Regions from separate parts of the Homo sapiens genome. Here all the other regions are linked to region 1. The links are contacts of gene promoters, found by promoter capture Hi-C in blood cells and fetal thymus (Javierre and others, 2016). All regions are on one chromosome and are shown on one strand. The core of a region is centred on a gene start or on the middle of the fragment in contact, and the rest is flanking DNA. Distances in the headings are between cores, read along the strand shown. Region 1 holds the start of CKMT2 (creatine kinase, mitochondrial 2). Region 2 overlaps ATG10 (autophagy related 10). Region 3 overlaps MSH3 (mutS homolog 3). Region 4 overlaps MSH3 (mutS homolog 3). Region 5 overlaps MSH3 (mutS homolog 3).

Region 1 (2,599 bases), core at 63-2,562:
AGTGGAGGGGGCCCTAAATGTTGATTAGGCAATTGGGGAGGAAAAGGAGGTTTTTGCTATAACTGCCATTCTTTAAATCTACAATTCCATGCTCTTTAAAAGCCTTATAATTTTCTGGATCTGGGAGCTGGGCTATTTCAGGGTCAATGGATTTATTTCAGTTGGTGCCTGAACTGACTTGAAACAAGTGTGTGTGGAAAAGAGCTATTTTGAGAAGGAATAAACCGAGACTGCCCTGATGATAGAATATGCAAGCTGGTGGGTCTTGACTCCTTAAAGGATTATGAAATTAATTTGATTGGTCCCAATCTTTATATAACCACCCCAATCAGGAAACTTCCCATCCCGCCAAAAGGCCCCCTCACGTGCTCTCCCTGTCAGTACCCCATGCAAAGGTAAAATAGATGATATTTTTAAACATGGGTCGTGTTTAAAAGAAATGGAAACTCCTTCAGAGAATGAAGGAGAACCACACTGGGTAGAAGGTTATTCCTGGGGCTCCACCCCTTGCTCCATCAAGTCCTCTGAGCATGAGCTGGGCTCTGAGAAGGAAGAGACAGGAACCAATTGGTCATGTCCACGTGGCCTCAGAAGCTGAGTACGTGACGGTCACCAGATGCCTAGGCAGGCTCCCTTGAAATGGCAGGGCTGCTGTCCAAAATCCTGCTGGGTCATTGCTATTTACAGGCAGCCTTCCCGGCGTGCGGTGGATATCCCAAGCGGGGCTATTTTTAAGCAGGGCTATGGCCTGCCGTGGGTTAAGCTGGTGTGGACAGAAAGCGAGATGATCTAGCCATCTACTGCAGGGGGCCTGATCTTGAACAGAAACCTGACTGTAATTGTCCCTGGATCCAGGTCCCAGACAAAGACGCTGGAAGGAGGTCCCTCCAGCCCCTGGCTCAGGGCCCGGTCAGCTGCTGGAGCCAGGCAGCTTGAGACATCCTCCTCTCCGACCTTGGCTTGAGGGGTTCATCCTCCAGAGCTCACCAGGGCCCCAAGGCTGGTACACCTGAGAGAAGAGAGAAACAAATCCCCCAACAGATGTGCAATTTCACCTGCTGGCCCTTCCATTCTGAGATCCAGAGCCCTGGCAAAGGAGCCTCCAGGACCAGGCCTGGGAAGCAAGACTGGCTCCGCCTTTTACGTTTCAGAGAAAGGGCAGGTGCTATAAAGGGCCCAGCGCCCACGGGCCTGCCTTCAAGGGTACAGCTGTGGGGGCCGGTGCGCCCGGAGGTCTACGCTGGGATTGGTGAGGTCCTCTGGCCCCGCCCCGCCAGGGAGGATTTCCAGGCCGGCCCGACCAGCTCGCCCTGCATACACTTCTTGGCTGTGTGCGCTCAGCAGGACGTGGGAGGCTCCGGCTTCAAGGTCGGTGAGTCCGTGAAACTCTGCTTTATTCCTCCAAAGAGGGGTCATGGCTAGAGCCAGTGTGAAGGGCCTTGGAGGAGTGGATGCCGGGCTGTAGACGGGGACCCCGTTAGGACGCTGACTGCGAGGAGGCAATGGTGACTCGCTAAAGCCAGCAGAGCTCCCGCCCTTGGCCGAAGCGACCCCTCCTCCCTGCACACAGGTGGGGGCAGCTCAGCACCAGGAGCAGAACAAATCAGCACGCTGCCTGCAGGGCCTCTTTTTGGTAGTGAATCAGGAATTTTTCTCGATGGAAAAAAAAATCTAAAGGCTGTATTTTGACGCTAAGTTTGGGACAACTTTAAACTTAAAGTGTCTTTCCCTTGTAATTCACAGAGTCTAATCCACTCATTTCTGGGAATGTTTTTCCCCAGCAGTCTCAGTCTCAAAAGACATGTAAATCAGTGACTTGGGATGAACTAACTAGAAAATTAAAATTTTGAGAAGCTATTTGCTCATAAGCCCAATAGCCAGGCCCAGTTTAAACGGGCAAATAGTATTGCTAGAGATTCAGTTTTGCCGTCACTAATACTAACACATTGATAATGAGACAAGTAACCGTCTCCCCTCCCCACCATCCTTACCTTTCCCACCGGAGGTTAATTAAAAAAAAAAAAAAAAAAAAAAAAACCTATGGAATTGGCCCCACGTGTTTCACCTGGGCAGAGGCCTGTTCTTCACTAGCTTGCTTGCTTGGTTGGTTGTCCCGGGGTTAAAATCAGTCCTGTTCTTGCCCCTAGAGTGGTCTGCCTTCAAATGCTCTCCTCCGAATGTGAGGAAGAGTGACATTTGACAAACAGACCAAAACCTTTAGGTCTCCTCAGTGCTGCCCTTTAGACCTTCCAGAAAGTGTTGCCAGGCTCGTGACCCCTCACAGTGTCAGCTGAGTCAAGTGAGGGGCAGTTAGTGGCCCTCAGGACAAGGTTACGCTAGGTACACCAGTGTGCTGTTTCCAGAAGGGCTGCTTTTCCTGTCTACGGCTCTCACATTTTCTCTGTTCTGAACTCGTGTCCTTGGTCTGTTCTCTCTGTCCTCTCATAGAGGCGAGCATGGCCACAGCATGTGGCCAGAGACTTCCTGACAGGCAGGCTCTTCCGGGAGGCTCTTGGCCTTGTTTGGCGGTCTGAGCACTTCACTTCCTCTGCATTGATAGGCACCTTTTCCAAAGACCCCAGACTTTGGAGTTAATCAC
Region 2 (2,599 bases), core at 30-2,529, 980 kb after region 1:
GAAAGCTGCCTACCAGACCTTGAGTTTTTTCAATGGTGATATTCTCAGAAAGAAAAAATTAATTTTTATATATCTTTAAAAAACACTTGAATTAAATGTCATGTTTGTTAAGAAACATCAGCTCATTTTGTCCTGAAACAAAGGCTAACACTGATAAATACAGCACCTGCATTGACCATATTTTAAAAATATTTCCAGGCCAGACACGGTGGCTCACACCTGTAATCCCAGCACTTTGGGAGGTTGAGGCAGGTGGATCACCTGAGGTCGGGAGTTCGAGACCAGCCTGGCCAACATGGTGAAACCCCATTCTCTACTAAAAATACAAAAAATTAGCTGGGCATGGTGGCAGGCGCCTATAATCCCAGCTACTCGGGAGGCTGAGGCAGAATAGCTTGAACCTGGGAGGTGAAGGTTGCAGTGAGCTGAGATCGCCCCACTGCACTCCAGCCTGGGCAACAAGAGCGAAACTCCATCTCAAAAAAAAAAAAAAATCCAATTTGTTACATTGTAATAAATAATGACCTTCTGAGAATTCAAAGACCCAAATACAAGGGAGTGTATTGCAGCAGGCTTAATCAATGTTTAGTGATGATAGAATGTATAATCGAAGAGCCAAGGATAGAAATCAAATTGCCTTTCTGCAGAAAGATCCTCAACAATTGAAAAACTGCTCTATAAAACTAAAGAACAGCTTGATGATTTAGAAAATAGAAACTGCAGAAATATTCTGTAGATCCTAGATATGTCCCCACTGCTTATTACCTTGTCTGCTTCAGAGTAAAAAGGAAGGGCAACAAAAAGAGATTCAACTTAGTGAATTTCGCTCTGGCCTGGAGCCACCCTGGCTTAAGACTATTAGCTAAGTATATCCTGGTCTAAAAATAAATCTTCTACCCTCTTATTTTCAAGTAACTTTCCTTTTTCATACCCAGACCAGAGAAGAGACATATATTATTAACTTACATCCAGACTTTGATAGATTCTTTAATGAATGGATTTTGATGTTCTGATATGGTAAAATTATGCATCACATCCACAATAATAGTATTGTTTTAAAATACCAGAATCAAGTAAGCCACCTGAGCAACTTGTGAGACTTCAAGCATGCTAATTAGGTATGAATAGAATGGGAGATCAATGACAGACTGGCAACACTTCAGCAAAAGCCACTTCTAGATACTTGCCTTATGACCAGGAAATGTCTTACACTAGCAATAGATTATTGTAATATGCCAAACCAATAAAACTCATGCTATTAGGAGTTTCATTAGATTTATTTGAGTCCACAGCTATAAGAATGAAGATGGTAGCAACAGGCCAGGCGCAGTGGCTCATGCCTGTAATCCCAGCACTTTGGGAGGCCGAGGTGGGTGGATCATGAGGTCAGGAGTTCAAGACCAGCCTGGACAATATGGTGAAACCCCATCTCTACTAAAAATACAAAAATCAGCTGGGTGTAGTGGTGCGTGCCTGTAGTCCCAGCTACTTAGGAGGCTGAGGCAGGAGAATCACTTGAACCCGGGAGGTGGAGGTTGCAGTGAGCCGAGATTGCGCTACTGCACTCCAGCCTGGGTGACAGAGTGAGACTCAGTCTCAAAAAAAAAAAATGACGATGGTAGCAACAACTATCTTCTCTTTTTACTTGAAACCTGTTTTATAGAAGCAGAATACTTAACCACTCTGTAAGAATGCTTAGGCCTATAGTAAAATTGGGAAGATCATGAGTTTTGCAATCAAACAGACATCAGTCTCAGCCCAGCCTCTTACTAGCTGTTTGGCCTTGGGTAAGTTACCTAACTCCCTTGGAAATTCAGTGTCCTCCTATATAAAATGGGAGAAATAATGGTGGTGATGGTGATGATGACCACAACGAACATTGTTAAGCATTTGTTATTTACTAAACACTGTGCTATTTATGTGCATTAGTTCATTTACTACTTTTATTACATAGTAATATTACATTTACTATGTGCTTATATATTATATTACCTTATAATTCTTATAAGGTATAAATGCAATCTTATCCCTTATATATCCTGTCATATATATGTGTATGTGTCAGAAGCTATTTTTTGCCACATGAATCTTTTGTGACAAATTGTAGAATATATATGCATATATATACACACACACACCCATATACATACACATATAGGGCATAATATTGATTGGCAGCAGTTTACACAGGCAACATGCTTTACATGCATTGTCTCATTTAATTCTCAAAACAGCTGGCCATGTGTGGTGGCTCACACCTGTACCCAGCACTTTGGGAGGCTGAGGCAGGAAGACTGCTTGAGCCCAGGAATTTGAGGCCAGCCTGGGCAATATAACAAGACCCCCTCTCTACCAAAAAAAAAAAAAAAAATTAACTGGGTGTGGTAGTGTGCACCTGTGGTTCTAGCTACTCGGGAGGCTGAGGTAGGAGGCTCGCTTGACCCCAGGAGGTCAAGGCTGTGGTGAGCTGAGATTGTACCATTGCACTCTAGCCTGGGCAACAGATCCAGACCTTGTCTCTAAATTAAAACAAAACAAAACCAAACAAAAAAACAGCTGCATAAGGAAGGTTATAACAGAACACTGTTCTCTCTTTACA
Region 3 (2,599 bases), core at 28-2,527, 570 kb before region 1:
AAAATTGAAAGAATTCTGCTGCGATTCTGCCCTTCCTCAAAGTAGAGTCCAGACAGAATCTCTGCAGGAGAGATTTGCAGTTCTGCCAAAATGTACTGATTTTGATGATATCAGTCTTCTACACGCAAAGAATGCAGTTTCTTCTGAAGATTCGAAACGTCAAATTAATCAAAAGGTATGTAACTGCTATAGATGAGTATCCAGTTACCTAGAATAGTGGGTTCTGAAGTACTGTCAGGTTCTCTGAGGTCATTCATGGCAATGGTTCCTAAACTTGGATGGTCTTCTGAATCATCTGAGGGAGCTTTTGTGTTTTAGTTTAGTTTTCTTACATCCCTGGAGATTCGATTTACTGTGTTTTGGGAGGGATTAATTGGTTTGTATGGGAACAAAACAAAAGCCTTCCAGGTAATTCTGAGGTATTGCCTGGATCAGGAGCCCTTGACTTGGAGGGATTCTTTATTGAGAATTAATACAAGCACAGTTTCTTACAGTCTTCCTTAGAGTTTCCATGATTACCGTGGAAAATCATGATGGGCAACTTAGATATTTTGAGGTTTCAGTTGAAAGCTTGATAGATAGAAAGTAAATTCAAATGTAAGCCAAATGAACATGGGCTTTTTACTTTATCCACTATTTGTTTTGAGACTTTTAATGGTTTTCATAACTGCAGAATCAGGGAATTTAACTCATGCTCCATCATTGAAATCTGTAATTCAGAATAGTGATTGGTTCGCAACCTTAGCTTTACATTGGAATCACCTGGAGAACTTCAAACAAAAATTGCCATTAAGAACCTTCCCTCAGAATCTTATCTAATTGGTTTTCACTGACAAATGGGCATGGATATTTTTTAAAAGTTTACATTTTATTTTGTATTTTATTTTTATTGATGGAGTCTTGCTCTGTTGTCCAGGCTAGAGTACAGTTGTGCGATTATAGTTCACTGTAGTCTCAAACTTCTGGTCTCAAGCAATCCTCCCACCTTAGCCTGCAGATGAGGTGAGACTAAAGGAAAAGCAGTCATTTTAATCTGTAGCTGTGATTGACAACCATTGAATTAGAGAAATGGTTCTATATATGTATATGTATGTGTGTATGTATATATATGAGTCATTGAAATTCTAATGAAAGCTGTTGGCCTTTTTCTTCAGAAAAATTCTCAAGCCAACAAAATTTTGCCTATAATTTTCAAGATTTCACACCTTTCCCACAAAGCCCAGATCCATGAACTCCTCCCTCAGCCAGGCTAATATTGATTGACTTATCTTAGATCATCAAGAAAAAAAAGGTGTTTTTGTTTTTAGTCTCTTTTAATACTTAGAAGCAGTTCACCTAAGTATAGTGGTTATTAAGCATAGAAGTCATAAAGTTTATCCATTAAAGCTCACTTTATTGATAGGAGCATTTACTCCAAGGTCTCAGAAGAGCGTATACATTATTGCTTTATACATAGAATGACCAACTTGGCATGTCCACATCACAGGAAATTAGAAGTAAGTAGACAGAGGGGGCACGTAGAAGCAGTGCCATTATTACAGGTGATAAGCTGTTTGATGGCATGGATAGACGTGGATGAATGGCAAAAAGCTACTGAGTGAACATAAATGCCCCATGGTCCAGGACCATTAGGGTGGGGTCAGCAATGCCATAACTCTCAATAGGTTTCGAAATATATTCTGATCACTCTGAATTGTCCAGACAAGGTTAAATTGAGTTCAGCATACTGTCTCTGGGAATATGAAATAGAATGTAATGTATCTGATGAGTATTTCTATCCAAATCATTTTTTTTAAAGTTGCTTATTTTGTTACCCAGGTATTAATATGTACAACAAACCCTCATGACACAAGTTTTCCTATATAACAAACCTGCACATGTACCCCTGAACTTAAAATGAAAGTTAAAAAAAAGTTGCTTAATATTCAAGTATTTAGATTGATTTAATTGTTAGCATCCCATAAGGATAAAACTTTTTTTTCCTGGAAGCTTATCTCATTTCCTAAAAGAATAAAGTATAAAGTAAGAATAAGTTTTTACAATGTAAGAAATATATTTTCTGTGTTGATTAACTTTTATACTACATAGTATATACCTGCATTTAATATAGAATACATACTATATTCCATGACATAAAAGTCATGGAAACAAAATAGGAAACTCATCAAAATTAAAAGCAAAGGCATTCTTAGGTATAGGAAAATTGTTATGCAATCCTTGGGGTGTTGCTTCGCCAGCTGTAAACCTCTGTGGCTGGTGGTGCCTTTGCCCGAGTTTTTACTTGGGCCTGCTGGGCTCATTCCTCCCACTCGGCCTGGCAGGCTGTGCTTGGCTTTTGCTTTTGGCCTGAATCTCGCAGCTGCCAAGGGTGAGCCAGGAGTGGAGTGGTGAGGGTGAGGGGTGTGTGAGCAGGTGACCATGGGGTCTGGCCCCTGTGCACTGCCAGGCATGCTGGCTTCGGCAGGGTGGGCAGCTCCAGGTGCCAGCGTGAGTGAGGGCTGGACCAGGCGTACCACAAACAGCTTCCACAGCTGGCACCAGGGAACACAGTGGCGCCCAGAAGCTTGGAGATTCCAGGAACTGCAGAGCCCCAGAGAGG
Region 4 (2,599 bases), core at 68-2,567, 550 kb before region 1:
ATGCACATGAATATTTCTATATATGGATATTCATCATAACAGTATTTGTAATACTGAAAAAATGAATATAGAAATGGAATGGATAAATTATGATAAATTATGATAAATGGATAAATTATGATTTCCTGTCTTTGATTTAGTTCATTTTTCTTTATATTTTATTAACTTAGTATATATTTTATTAACTTAGTATATATTTTATTAATTTAGATTGAGTAAAGTCAATCAATTTTATCAACACATTCATTTTTTTGTTTTCTGCTTAATTTTATAAAATAACAATGGCGAAATTCAATAAAATATCAAAATATTTCATAATGACATTGTCAAAAGTGAATTTTTGTTTGTCAAGCAGCATTCATTGACTGGTGATATTCCTAAATGTTTGTTCATCACATGAGATTTAAAAGCTTGAATTTGGCATATCAAAGATAATTTAGGTGTCTTATGTGGGTTTTACCAAATTTAATGCCTGCTTTTGTCTTATTTTAATTTGAATTTCTCTAGTTAGCATTGTAAATAATTTTCTCTATGTTTACTGACCGTGTGTAATTTTTCAATCTTTGCACTTTTTTTTGTATCCTTTGATCATTTTCACTTTATTTGCATATTGGACTAAGCGAAGTCAAAAGTTAAATCTGCATTTCTGTGGAGTTCCTACAGCTAATTTATATCTATGGACAGAATGAAGTAGAGGAAATTCAAAAGTTAGCAGGGGTCAAACAGTGTGGACTCTTGTGACTCAGGGTTTGAGTTGGAAAACTAGCTCTTCCCTTTAGTGACTTTGAGTAAGTTATCTACTGTATTGTCCTTCAGTGTCCTTTATATTGGGGGTATTAAGAGTGCTTACCTCATGGGGTTGTTGTGAGGATTAAATAAGTTAATATAGGTAAAGCGCCTGAAATAGTACCTGCTGTAGAAGGCTCTCTGTAAGAGGAAGTTTTTTTTTTTATATTTTAATTAAATTTTCTGTGGCTGGGCGCAGTGGCTTATGCTTGTAATCCCAGCAGTTTGGGAGGCCAAGTCAGGCGGATCACAAGATCAGGAGTTCGAGACCAGCCTGACCAACATGGTGAAACCCCATCTCTACTAAAAATACAAAAATTAGCCAGGCATGGCTAAAGTTTTTTGTAGGTACATAATAGATGTATATATTTATGGGTTACATGAGATACTTTCATACAGGCATACAATGCATAATAATTACATCAGGGTAAATGGGGTATCCATCTCCTCAAGCATTTATCCTTTGTGTTACAAACAACCCAATTATACTCTTTTAGTTATTTTAAAATGTACAATTAAATGATTTTTGACTGTAGTCATTCTGTTGCACTATCAAATGCTAGGTCTTATTCTTTCTATTTTTTTTGTACCCATTAACCATCCCCAGTTCCCTTCTCAGCCTCTGGTAGCCATCTTTCTACTCTCTATCTCCATGAGTTCAGTTGTTTTAATTTTTAGCTCCCACAAGTAGGTGAGAACATGCAAAGTTTATCTTTCTGTGCCTGGCTTATTTCATGTAAAATAATGACCTCCAGTTCCATCCATGTTGTTGCAAATGACAGGATCTCATTCCTTTTCATGGCAGAATGCTACTCCATTGTATATATGTACTACATTTTCTTTACCCATTTGTCTGCTGACAGACACCTGGGTGCTCGCAAATCTTAGCTCTTGTGAATAGTGCTGTAGTAAACATGGGAGTGCACATATCTCTTCTATATACTGATTTCCCTTCTTTTGAGTATATATCTAGCAGTGGGATTGCTGGATCATGTGGTAGTTCTATTTTTAGTTTTTTGGTAGTTTTTTTTCAAACTACTCTCCATAGTGGTTGTACTAATTTACATTCCCACCAACAGTCTGTGAGGGTTCCCTTTTCTCCACATCCTCACCAGCATTTATTATTGCATGTCTTTGGATAAAAGCCATTTTAACTGAGGTGAGATGGTATCTCATTGTAGTTTTGATTTGGATTTCTGTAATGAACGATGGTGTTGAGAGCTTTTCACATACCAGGCTGCCATTGTATGTCTTCTTTTGAGAAATGTCTATTCAATTTGTCTATTTTTAAATTGGATAATTAGATTTTTCCTGTAGAGTTGTTTGAGCTCCTTATATATTGTGGTTATTAATCCCTTGTCACATGGGTGGTCTACATACATTTTCTTCCATTCCATGGGTTGTCTCTTCACTTTGTTGATTGTTTCTGTTGCTGTGCAGAAGCTTTTTAACTTCATGTGATCCCATTTGTCCATCTTTGCTTTGGTTGCCCTATTAAGAAATCTTTGCCCAGTTCAGTGTTCTGGAGAGTTTCCCCAATGTTTTATTTTAGTCATTTCATAGTGTGACATTTTAGATTTAAGTCTTTAATCCATTTTTGATTTGATTTTTGTATATGGTGAGAGATAGGGTCTAGTTTCATTGTTCTGCATATGGATGTCCAGTTTTCCCAGCACCATTTGTTGAAAAGATTCTTTCCTCAGTGTATGTTCTTGGCACCATTGTCAAAAATGAGTTCACTGTAGATGTATGGATTTATTTCTGGGTTTTCTGTTCTGTTCCAGTGGTCTGTGTGTCTGTTTTTATGCCAGTA
Region 5 (2,599 bases), core at 37-2,536, 530 kb before region 1:
GAGGCCTCTCTATGTCTTCTATACTGGTTTTAAACTCCTGGGCTCAAGCAATCCACCCACCTTGGCCTCCCCAAAATGTTGGAATTACAAGCGTGGACCATTGCGCCTGGCCAAAATCTGCATTTTGATGGATGTTTCCAGTAGATTCTCAAGTTGTTGATACATCTTCTAAGTTGAACATTATTATACAGTCATTCATTTATTCATCCTTAAACACAGTTATTGAGTGGCTGCTGTGCGCCAGCTTTGTTACTAGGTGGCAAGGATACAGAAATGAGAAAGATCCCTCCTTTCCAAGTTCTTATAGTCTAGAGGGGAGGTAGTCATGGAAATAATTGTAATGAAAGCGCTGGTTGAAAATATCTTAGAGTTACTGGCAGCCCTTGAGCATCATGCTAGTTTGCTAGAGGGGTGTGTTAGAATTGAGACTGGAAGAATGAATGCCAGTCAGGTGGAGGTGTGAGAGAGCGTGCTTTTCTTAGGAAGCAGAAACTAGTTTGGCTGGGTTACTCTGCCAGCATGAGCAGGCAACCTGAGGCAGGACAGACGTGTTTTGGAGAGAAAGGGTGTATAAAGCTGGAAACCATCATTCTCAGCAAACTGTCGCAAGGACAAAAAACCAAACACCGCATGTTCTCACTCATAGGTGGGAATTGAACAATGAGAACACTTGGACACAGGAAGGGGAACCTCACACACCGGGGGGCCTGTTGTGGGGTGGTGGGGGGGACGGATAGCATTAGGAGATATACCTAATGTAAATGACAAGTTAATGGGTGCAGCATACCAACATGGCACATGTATACATATGTAACAAACCTGCACGTTGTGCACATGTACCCTAGAACTTAAAGTATAATAAAAATATACAAATAAATAAAAAATAAAAAGAGAATCAAGAGTGAAACGGTGGAGTGAGAAAGCGGCATTACACAGGGCCTGGATAAAGAGTTTCCTGTGACAGAGACTGAGCTGAGATGGCTGGTGATGGGGACCGTAGCCTAGTGACCCTTTGTGTACCCAGCACCTATCAAAGTAGCTCACACATAATAGGTGCTTAATAAATGCTTGGTAAATGAATGATTAAATAAGTGATGTTTAGAATAAAGAGAATAATGGGTATCTCCTATTTGTTTTTCTTAACAAAACTGATTTGGGTTTTTTAAACATAGAAGGGTTGTTGTAAGGCTGGGCGTGGTGGCTCATACCTGTAATCCCAGCACTATGGGAGGACGAGATGGGTGGATCACCTGAGGTCAGGAGTTCCAGACCAGCCTGGCCAACATGGTGAAACCCCACCTCTACTAAAGGTACAAAAATTAGTTGGGTGTGGTGTCAGCACCTGTAATCCTAGCTACTTGGGAGGCTGAGGCAGGAGAATGGCTTGAACCCGGGAGGTGGAGGTTGCAGTGATTCAAGATTGCACCACTGCACTCCAGCCTGGGCAACAGAGTACAACACTGTCTCCAAAAAAAAAAAAAAAAAAAAAAAGGTTGTTGGAGTAGCTGGAAATCTATACATTAACATATATGGTAATCAATGTCTATTTACATTATATAGATTTACATTATACAGATGTAGCCAATTCATTTACTCTTTTGGAAAGATCATATTGATTTCTTATCGTTTTTTCCCCATTATGTTTATTTCTTTAAAAAATTTTTTAATATCACTGTAAATTGATTGAAGCATCCTGACATTTCCATAGATATTCCTTTACAGCAAATATTAATGGGATCTACATGGCTAAGTTACTGTTTAAAGATTGATATTGATGATAACTAGGCACTAGCCTCCCCTCTGGCGCTTGAAACCTTTTCTGTTGTGGTATTCGTAGGAAATCTCTTTTTTTCTTTATATTTTGTCTTCCCCATTTTCCTCATTCCTCTTTTCGAGAGCAGAAGATAAATATAAAGTTGACTACTTTGTCATTCTGTTTCATTATGTTTATTAGACGGTAGTTTCACTTAACTATTTAGATAATCTAGAATTAGAAAATAAATTGTGGGCCTGGCAGGGTGGCTCATGCCTAAAATCCGAGCACTTTGGGAGGCTGAGGCGGGTGGATCACTTGAGGTCCGGAGTTCAAGGTCAGCCTGGCCAACATGGTGAAACCTCATCTCTACTAAAAATACAAAAAATTAGCTGGGCATGATGGCACGTGCCTGTAATCCCACCTTCTCAGGAGGCTGAGGCAGGAGAATTGTTCGAACCTGGGAGGCAGAGGTTGCAGTGAGTCGAGATCTCCCCACTGCACTCCAGTCTGGGCGACAGAACAAATCAATTCTGGTAGTAGAGATGGTAGTGACTAAATGGAAGAAATAAATCTCATATGCTGTAGGAAAATGTTTGCCACTGGGAAACCATTTAAAGAGGAAGTGTTATTAGTATTAAAAAATCTGTCATTTTGAAATTTCTTTTTAAAAATTACATTAATTTCTTCCCTGGTGGTAATGCCATTGTATTTTCAGTAGGTTTTTTTTTTAGTCCTGATACTTTTTGTATATCTAGCTAGCAATTTTAATGGATGTGCTTAACTCATGAAAATCCAGATTTTAAAACATGATAAGTTAATAGGTGATAGTTATTTTATAAGAAC

The links. The method cuts DNA at HindIII sites, captures the fragments that hold promoters and counts their contacts. A CHiCAGO score of 5 or more calls a contact.
Region 2: a contact is called between a fragment that was not itself captured here and the fragment with the promoter of CKMT2 in region 1, in 1 of 17 cell types (neutrophils). The highest score is 5.4, in neutrophils.
Region 3: a contact is called between a fragment that was not itself captured here and the fragment with the promoter of CKMT2 in region 1, in 1 of 17 cell types (total CD8 T cells). The highest score is 5.1, in total CD8 T cells.
Region 4: a contact is called between a fragment that was not itself captured here and the fragment with the promoter of CKMT2 in region 1, in 4 of 17 cell types (endothelial precursors, megakaryocytes, total CD8 T cells and 1 more). The highest score is 5.9, in endothelial precursors.
Region 5: a contact is called between a fragment that was not itself captured here and the fragment with the promoter of CKMT2 in region 1, in 3 of 17 cell types (total CD4 T cells, M1 macrophages and endothelial precursors). The highest score is 5.9, in total CD4 T cells.

Annotation. Positions count from the first base shown.
Region 1 is chr5:81,232,010-81,234,608 of GRCh38, forward strand. CKMT2 (creatine kinase, mitochondrial 2) reads left to right here and starts at 1,313. Exons shown (of 10, transcript NM_001099735.2): 1 at 1,313-1,368. The HindIII fragment of the contact is 4,095 bases long and covers 1-2,599 here.
Region 2 is chr5:82,215,457-82,218,055 of GRCh38, forward strand. The region is part of intron 5 of ATG10 (autophagy related 10); the gene reads left to right. Among named protein-coding and RNA genes, the nearest start is that of RPS23, 62 kb to the right of the region's middle. The HindIII fragment of the contact is 4,691 bases long and covers 1-2,599 here.
Region 3 is chr5:80,665,189-80,667,787 of GRCh38, forward strand. MSH3 (mutS homolog 3) reads left to right here. Exons shown (of 24, transcript NM_002439.5): 3 at 1-175. Among named protein-coding and RNA genes, the nearest start is that of DHFR, 12 kb to the left of the region's middle. RefSeq lists an enhancer at 2,403-2,599. The HindIII fragment of the contact is 1,419 bases long and covers 569-1,987 here.
Region 4 is chr5:80,681,465-80,684,063 of GRCh38, forward strand. The region is part of intron 8 of MSH3 (mutS homolog 3); the gene reads left to right. Among named protein-coding and RNA genes, the nearest start is that of DHFR, 28 kb to the left of the region's middle. The HindIII fragment of the contact is 1,819 bases long and covers 409-2,227 here.
Region 5 is chr5:80,698,091-80,700,689 of GRCh38, forward strand. The region is part of intron 8 of MSH3 (mutS homolog 3); the gene reads left to right. Among named protein-coding and RNA genes, the nearest start is that of DHFR, 44 kb to the left of the region's middle. The HindIII fragment of the contact is 4,490 bases long and covers 1-2,599 here.